Regions from separate parts of the Homo sapiens genome. Here all the other regions are linked to region 3. Evidence: promoter capture Hi-C in 16 types of primary human blood cells and fetal thymus (Javierre and others, 2016). All regions are on one chromosome and are shown on one strand. Each heading gives the region's core, a stretch centred on a gene start or on the middle of the fragment in contact. The rest is flanking DNA. Distances are from core to core; before and after follow the strand shown. Region 1 overlaps BCAS3 (BCAS3 microtubule associated cell migration factor). Region 2 overlaps BCAS3 (BCAS3 microtubule associated cell migration factor). Region 3 holds the start of TBX4 (T-box transcription factor 4).

Evidence for each region. The method cuts DNA at HindIII sites, captures the fragments that hold promoters and counts their contacts. A CHiCAGO score of 5 or more calls a contact.
Region 1: a fragment that was not itself captured here is called in contact with the fragment with the promoter of TBX4 in region 3 in 1 of 17 cell types (total CD8 T cells); the score reaches 5.1 in total CD8 T cells.
Region 2: a fragment that was not itself captured here is called in contact with the fragment with the promoter of TBX4 in region 3 in 2 of 17 cell types (M0 macrophages and M1 macrophages); the score reaches 6.4 in M0 macrophages.

Annotation. Positions count from the first base shown.
Region 1 is chr17:60,856,909-60,859,608 of GRCh38, forward strand. The region is part of intron 7 of BCAS3 (BCAS3 microtubule associated cell migration factor); the gene reads left to right. Among named protein-coding and RNA genes, the nearest start is that of BCAS3, 180 kb to the left of the region's middle. The HindIII fragment of the contact is 1,511 bases long and covers 629-2,139 here.
Region 2 is chr17:60,711,292-60,713,991 of GRCh38, forward strand. All of the region lies in intron 5 of BCAS3 (BCAS3 microtubule associated cell migration factor), which reads left to right. Among named protein-coding and RNA genes, the nearest start is that of BCAS3, 35 kb to the left of the region's middle. The HindIII fragment of the contact is 384 bases long and covers 1,121-1,504 here.
Region 3 is chr17:61,451,006-61,453,705 of GRCh38, forward strand. It overlaps TBX4 (T-box transcription factor 4), which reads left to right and starts at 1,417. Exons shown (of 9, transcript NM_001321120.2): 1 at 1,417-1,572. It overlaps LOC124904042 (a long non-coding RNA gene), which reads right to left. Exons shown (of 2, transcript XR_007065872.1): 2 at 2,237-2,700. RefSeq lists an enhancer at 1,387-2,228. The HindIII fragment of the contact is 10,401 bases long and covers 1-2,700 here.

The DNA.
Region 1 (2,700 bases), core at 134-2,633, 590 kb before region 3:
ACTGTAATGAATTCACTGTGTAAATTCCATACCTTTGGCTGTTGTAATATATAAAAATGAGGACCTTTTCCTCCCTAATAAAATCTTAATAACTTCCTTTATGGGTATGGGTCAAATGTACAGTAGGTAACAGATTGTTCTGATAAAATTTCAACACACATGCTCAGTAATTCACTATAAAACAAGTTACTTACATAAAGAAAAGGTCAGTTAAAGAGAATTTGCATTCATTTCTATTTACATTTATCATGAATAGTGTAAAATGCCTTTACTATGCATTTTTATATGTATATATGGGATCCTGGGCACAAATTACAGATTTTTAAAGAAGCATTTATTAATAAAAATTGCATCCTTCCTGCCTTTCCTACAGCCTCTGATATTTGCTTACAGTAGATTCAGTTACATTCTAAACTTGGCTCTAAAAACTTCTTCTAGGAACTTCCCCCCACTTTATGCTATTAGGTTTACCTTTAAGGTCATAGCCCCATGTTTAAATGTCAAACACAATCCTTTAAAAATAATCCATTAGAGCTCTGTAGAAGTCACATGAAGACTGTATTCTGTGTAAAACTTTCTTGTGGCACTGTTTTCTACACCATTTTTGGCTTGTATGATAGAAAATAAAAGCTTGTTTCATGTCTGTCTATTTTAGTATAACACCTTATGGGGCATGCATACTGATTATTTTATGGAAAGCACTCTCATCAGCCTGCCCATGAGGAAAATTAAGATTGTCTTGCTATGTTCCATGGAAATGGTCAAGGCTTTTCAAAAGAGAAAACAGAGAACAAAAGAATATGTCGGGCGTGCACCCAACTGTGTTATTGGCAGGAAACGTGCTGACTCCTTTGTGAATGTGTGAATTTGTGAAGACCCTTATTTTAAAGAATTATCTTTTCCTATTAGTTGTTGAATGAGAGGTTTTTCTCATATATAAATAGTTTATGGTTCTGACAAATTTTGTTCAGTTATCTATAAACTGAGCTTTCGTAACATTTGTTTTGTCTGTTTCTAATGAAGGCTTGTTGCATGAAGATTCTCAGTTGTGACATTGTATGGATGATGCCAGTGAAGTGATCGGAGTTCCAGTATCTAGTGTGTTGTAGCCATCATGAGCTCCTAATTGAAGGCGACAGGCTGCTTTTTTCCCCTCCTAGTTGGTCAGGCAAAATGTTAGATTTCATTCATTATTAACTCATTCCTTATCAGCAGAGGACTGGATTAATTTGTAGGGAACATAAATAATTTTTGCTTTGTGTCAATTTTAGAGATTGAAGTTCAGGCTTATACAAGATTCTCTCCCACCTCCAGTTGTTCCAATTGTATGCATTTGTGTAACTACCATCATAAAAATGATACACTAACATTTCTGTCACACCAAAAGTTTCTCGTGCCACTTTGTGCTCCATACCTTCCTCCTTTCCCTCTCTCTTGCAACACTGATTTGCTTCCTATTATTATAGTTGTGGCTGTTGTTTTTTTTTTTAACTTTTCATAGAAGGGACTCATACAGTGTGTAGACTTTTATGTATAGCTTCCCTACTCCCACAGTCATGGTATTGAGATTCACTTTTGTTGTTTTATAGATAATTTGTTCTTTTTAAATGCTGAGTACTTTTCATTGCATTAATATGTAACTGTCCATTCACCTATTGATGGACATTTAATTGTTTCTAGGCTTTTTATTATGGCTAATAAAATACCTAGTTGTGACATATGGAAAATGTATGTTTAATTTTTTTACAAACTGGTAAACTATTTTTCAGAGTGACTGTACCATTTTGCGTCTCCAGCAGTAATGTGTGAGGGCTTCAATTAGTTTGCATTCTTGCCATAACTTTGTACTACTAGTTTTTAAAATTTTAGTCATTCTATTGGGTGTAGTGGTATCCATTAGTGGTTTCAACTTGCATTTCCCTGATAATTAAATATGTTGAACATCTTTTCATGTGCTTACTTGCTATCTGTATATCTTCTTTAATCAAGTATCTTTAAACATATTAGGGCCATTAAAAAACTGTATTCTTCTTTTTGCTTCTACAACAGTTATCATAGAATTATCGTCATTTTATTTATTATGAACACCTTTATTTTTTATTTTTCATGCATGAAATCATTTATTTTAGAGCTAATGTAAGCTTAGCCCACATTATAATGTTATAACATTAATTTTAATGCTGACATTAAAATTAAACATTAAAACAACATTGATACAGAAAATAAACATATGACTTAATATGTACAAGAGAGTTAGCAAGAAAAACTTGATAAATAATTTTTTTTCCAACTTTTATTTTAGGTTCTGGGGGTACGTGTTCAGGTTTGTTACATCAGTAAATTGTATGTCACTGGAGTTTGGTGTACAGATTATTTTGTCACCCAGGTAGTGAGCATAGTACCCGATAGGTAGTTTTTTGATCCTCACTCTACTTCCACCCTCCTCCCTCAAGTAGGCCCCGGTGTCTGTTGTCCCCTTCCTTGTGTCCATGTGAATTCATTGTTTAGCTCCCACTTAGAAGTGAGAGCATTCTGTATTAGGTTTTCTGTTCTTGCATTAATTCGCTTAGGATAATGGCCTCCAGCTGCATTTATGTTGCTGCAAAGGACACGATTTTGTTCTTTTTTATGCTGTGTAGTATTCTGTGGTGAATATGTACCACATTTTTTTTTTTTTGAGATGGAGTCTCGCTCCTGTCG
Region 2 (2,700 bases), core at 63-2,562, 740 kb before region 3:
AATTTTGGTATTGTTCCAAAGGCGTGGAGAAAGTACTTAAAATTTGGCAGTGTTTTTTTTTCTTACGGAGAGAAATATTTCTAGGTTGTGATAAAACAAAAGGGTTTTGTAAATGTAACTTTTTCTTATTAATAGAGACTACATTTTGCTTCATTATGCTGTTTGTTGACAGTACTGAAGACAGAGGAAGTTATACCTTTAACAAGAGGGTTGAGCCTGTGTGATTAGGGGTGTTGACTGGATTGAACACATTCCTTTGGTGGTATTCAGGTTGTTTTAACTGCCCACTTGTTTTGGTTATAATTGGGGATATTAATTTTAATAGTTTAAAGTTAATTTCTGTTTATCTTTGAGTAATTAAGGTCTTTATTTCTCCTTATGCCTAGATTATATTTTGAGAGACTTGAATAATTTTTTTTTTGATAGAATTTTCTTTGGCCAAGTGTATATTGTTGTAGTACCACTATTTCATGAATTAGGGCCTGGTGTAGAGGCTGACGCTTGTAATCCCAGCACTTTGGGAGGCTGAGGCAGGAGGATCACTTGAGGTCAGCAGTTTGAGACTAACCTGGGCAGCACAGTGAGACCAGCCGGGTGCGGTGGCTCATGCCTGTAATCCCAGTACTTTGGGAGGCCAAGGCAGGCAGATCATTTGAGGTCAGGAATTCGAGACCAGCCTGACCAACATGGTGAAACCCCATCTCTACTAAAAATAAAAAAAAAATTAGCCGGGCATGATGGCACATGTCTGTAGTCCCAGCTACTCTGGAGGCTGAGGCAGGAGAATCGCTTGAACCCGGGAGGCGGTGGTTACAGTGAGCCAAGATTGCGCCACTGCACTCCAGCCTGGGTGACAGAGTGAGACTCTGTCTCAAAACAAAAACAAAAACAAAAACACATAGTGAGACCTTGTCTCTACAAAAAATTTTTAAAAATTAACCAGGCGTAGTGGCATGCGCCTGTGGTTCCAGCTACTCGGGAGGATGAGGCAGGGGGATTGCCTGAGCCTGGGAAGTTGAGGCTGCAGTGAGCCATGATTATGCCACTGCACTCCAGCCTGGGTGACAGAGTGAGATCTTGTCTTGGGAAGGAAAAAAAAAAAAGACAATCTGGGAAAATAAGCTTCTTATATTTCATTGAGCTCTCATTATGGTCAAAGAGGTTTATATACATATTATCTCATCTAATGTAGAAGTTACCTTGTTTTACAGGTGGTAAGGTCACACTGCTTTTAAGAGGTGGAACTAGAATTTAAACCTAGTTCTGTCTGAATTCAAATTCAAAGCCCATGATCTAAGAGCTATACTTCATCACTTTTCAAATGTGATTGCTAAAGATATGACATGTGAGTAGTTTTGTAGTTAAGGTTTAGTTTTTGTAGAGGTGAAGGGAATTATCCCCTCTCCCTCTGAAATAAATTGACAATAGACTAATGGGAGAAAAAGCATACACATGCATGAGAGCCACATAAAATATGAGACTCAAAGAAGGGCCAAATGGCTGAAGCTTACATAGTGCTCTCTTCATAGGGGAGAAGGAGATGGAGGAATGTCGTCAGTTTTGAGAGTTAGTAAATCATTCTCAGGAAAGTTGAATGGGCCCAAAGAGCAGAAAATTGTTTCTAAGTGATTCACTTGGGAAGTGGGACCTGAGCAGAGATGATAGCCTGTGACAAAGTCTGTCTAGGTGTGGTGTCATTTCTCGGTTTTCCATCCTGTAATTTGAGATTAATCTTCTCTGGTTGAAGAAATTTCAGAAAGGGGAGAGGGAGGCAATTGTGTTCCTTCTAGAAGAGCTTCAGGAAAGGGAACTTGAGAGAGTCCCTCCTTGTGCTTGTGAGGGAGAAGCAGGAGAACACCAGAAAGTCCTTGGTTCTGAGGACTTCTGAGGCCTTTTAATTTCCTTTAGCTCAAAATGCTCAGCATGCCAAAATGCCAGAATTTGGAATATCGTTTTCTGAGCCCCAGTGTTTTCATTTGTAAAAGATTAGTATGTACCTTCAAATACTCATAGTTATCTTTTACATTTTACTTTGTTAGCCATTACTCTGTCAGAACCCTTCTGAAACTTATAACCATTATTCATTACATGAGCATATATGCTAGACAGTGGGGAGCCTATGTTGGCCAACCTAGAAAAAAATGACTCTCATGGATCTTTATAGTCTGTAATTAATACGATTGGCCCTCTATATACGTGTGTTGCGCATCTGCAGATTCAACCAACTGTGGATTGAAAATATTTGGAATTAAAAAAAGGATGGTTGTGTCTGTACTGAACACGTATAGAGTTTTCTTTCTTGTCATTATTTCCTAAACAATGCAGTATAACAATTATTTACATAGCATTTACATTGTACTAGGTATTATAGGTAATTAAGAGATGACTTAAAGTATATGAGAGAATGTGTAAAGGTTATATGCAAATACTATGCCATTTTATGTAAAGGACTTGAGCATGATGGACTTTGGTATTCATGGGTGGTTTGTGGAACCAGTCAGCACAGATGCTGATGGACAATTGCATTTGCATTTGCTTTTTTTGTTTGTTGTTTGTTTTTGAGACTGAGTCTCACGCTGTTGCCCAGGCTGGAGTGCAGAGGGGTGATCTCGGCTCACTGCAACCTCTGCCTCCTGGGTTCAAGTGATTTTCATGTCTCAGCCTCCTGAGTAGCTGGAACTACAGGTGTGAGCCACCATG
Region 3 (2,700 bases), core at 167-2,666:
ATTTCCTAGCATTAGAACAGGGACAGACCCATCCAGGAAAAGAATTTCCCTGTCCTCTCCCCTTCAAGCTGATTTTGAGGTCAGAATCTGGAAAGGGACAGAGGCTGGTTGAGGACACTGGTGGAGGGAGGGATGCAGCCCATGCTAAGCACTAAGGGACCACTCTGGGGATCCTTATTGATGAGGATTCTGCTGTCTTTGCAGATGGGTGGGCAGGCCTATTTCTGCCCCAGGATTCTGGGCATGTGACAGGCGGGGAGGCTGGGGCACGGGCTGGGGTCCGCATGGGTCCGTCTGCTAGTGGAAAGGCAGCGTCCTGTGGGAGGTACAGACAGAGAGAAACAGAGGTAAGTGGAGACAGAGAGCTCAGAGGCTGGGCAGGGAGGTCTAGGTGCTGAGCGGGACTCCGTTTCTGAGGCGGAAAGAACCGGGTGGCTGGGAGCAGGACGCTCCCCAGTCTCCACTTCCTAGACTAGGGCAGGCATTGGGCTTCCTCTTCAGCTCTCCAGGATCTCAAGGAGCTGCCGCGGAATCCTGGCCCTGGGCCGCAGTTTCCCCAGGAGGCTCTGCCAAGCCTGGCACCTTGCAGCCCGGCCTGGGCTCTGTCAAGGCCCGAGCCGGACTCGGCTCCACTCAGAGGCCGGCCCAGCACTTCCCTGCCGCCGCCGCCCCGCACCCGGCCACCGGGCTTCCTCCCAGTCCTCACCCCTGACCTCCGCGGCCGACTTCGAGGCGCGCCAGGCCGGGTCCAGCGCCCGCGGCCCCCTGGGCCGGGACAAGGAGGGCGGGTGAGCAGAAGGGCCGTGCCCAGGGCCTGGAAGTGCAAGGCCGCGTGGTGGGCATGGTAGGGAAGCGGAGCGTGGGCCTGTGAGGCGCGTGTGCGCCTGCGACCTCGGGACCGGGGCTCCCAAATGAACAGCGCGCACAGCTGGGAGCAGGGCTTGGGGAGCGGGGCTCTGCGGCCGGGGATCCGTAGAAGCCGCTGCCTGGAAGCGGGCGCCGGCAGGGGGTGGCCAGACCCGGTCGTGGAGCGTCCTAGTCTTCGGGCACGGCGGGGCCAGGCGAGCCCTCCTGGTTGTCGAGCCTCGGCTGAGAGCCGGGCTGCTCGCCCTTGCTTCCCGCCTCTCTAATCTAAACCATGCGGGGCTCCCAGCCCCTACCCGGCTCGCGGGGCCCGAGGGCCAAGAGGAGGGCACTGGGCCGCGCGGTGGAGGAGCCGGCGGCTCGCGTGGGGCTCGGGATCTTGGGGACCGCGACGCCGGGGAACCCTGGAGCCCCCCTCCCCGGGGGACAGCGGGCGCAGACTGATTGACAGCGGCGACGTCAGCGCGGAGGGGGGGCGGCCCCAGAGGGAGGGAGGGAGGAGGAGGGAATTGAGGCCCCAAAGTGCAGCCTTGGAGATCAAGGGCCCGCTCCAGAGCCGGGATGTGTCCAGCCCCGAGGGCACGGCAGGCAGCTGGACCCTGACCCAGCGGCGCGGAGTCGGAGCCCCGGCCGTCCCGCGCTCCTCGGACCCGAACCTGCAGGGGACCTCGGGCCGCTGGCGCCTCCGCATGCGGCACCGCAATTAGGGTGAGTGTGGGTTCCAGCCGAGTGGGGACGAGCTGGGCGTGCGGGGCTGGGGCCACAGGGGCTCAGGGTTAGGCTGCGGGGACGGACAGGAGGATGAGCTGGAAAGGGGTGAGTCACGCGACCCGGGGAAGAACTTCAGGGGCGGTCAAAGTTGCAGGAAGGCGGCGCGAAGTGCCTTGGGTCGGGCCGCCGCCTCGGCCCGACACCCAGTAGTTGGGGCACGAGCCCTCCTCTCTGAGTAACGCGATGAATTGGGTCTAGAGATCCAAGAGCATAGAAATATCGACAGCGCCAGCACCCTAAGAACAAGGCCGTGACAGGCGGAGCGGTGGCCTGGAAATTGGTGTTTGCAGAATATGCAAGGCCAAGGAAGAGGGCCCCGGTACTGGAGCGAAAATCCGTGTAGATATGTGAGTGATCAGAACACTAGACTCAGAGCCTTTGATGCAATAGACTAGTCAAAATTAAAGCAAGGAACATTATATATAAATAATGATCGATGATTAAAGATTATTGGAATGTGAACAATTACCAAAGAAAGGGCTAATCGGCATAACTGATATAACACGTGAACTTCCAAATAATACAATCATAGTCACTTTCAGAATCAAGTGAAAATAGTAATCACAATTTTTAAAAGGATTAAAGACAAAGTAATTCTAAATAGAGGAACAATGTAAGGACTGTTTATTAAAACCAATTGCACTAATATAACATATAGTAATAGTGTAACAAATTACCAAACTGTAGGAAACTAGCAAACGAACTGTAGGAGAAAGATGAACAATGAAAATACTATTAAGGGAAATACTATTAGTGGTAGTGATATAATAATATAATGTATTATTGATACTACAGTGAACTATTAAAAGAAATATTAACTAAAATCTTAGGAGCAATAGTAATATAAATAAAGACATATTAACAAGAATTGCTGGAGTAATATGACAATTTATGACCAATGTATTAATAGTCACAAGAACATTATAAATAATGGTTGAGTAATAAGAAGTATTGTACCAATGTGATGAAAAATAATCAGAGTATTAAGAGCTACAACAATATTACAAAGTATGACAAAATAACAAGAAGTAATGATGTGATGAGTAACTAGCGAGTTCAGATCTG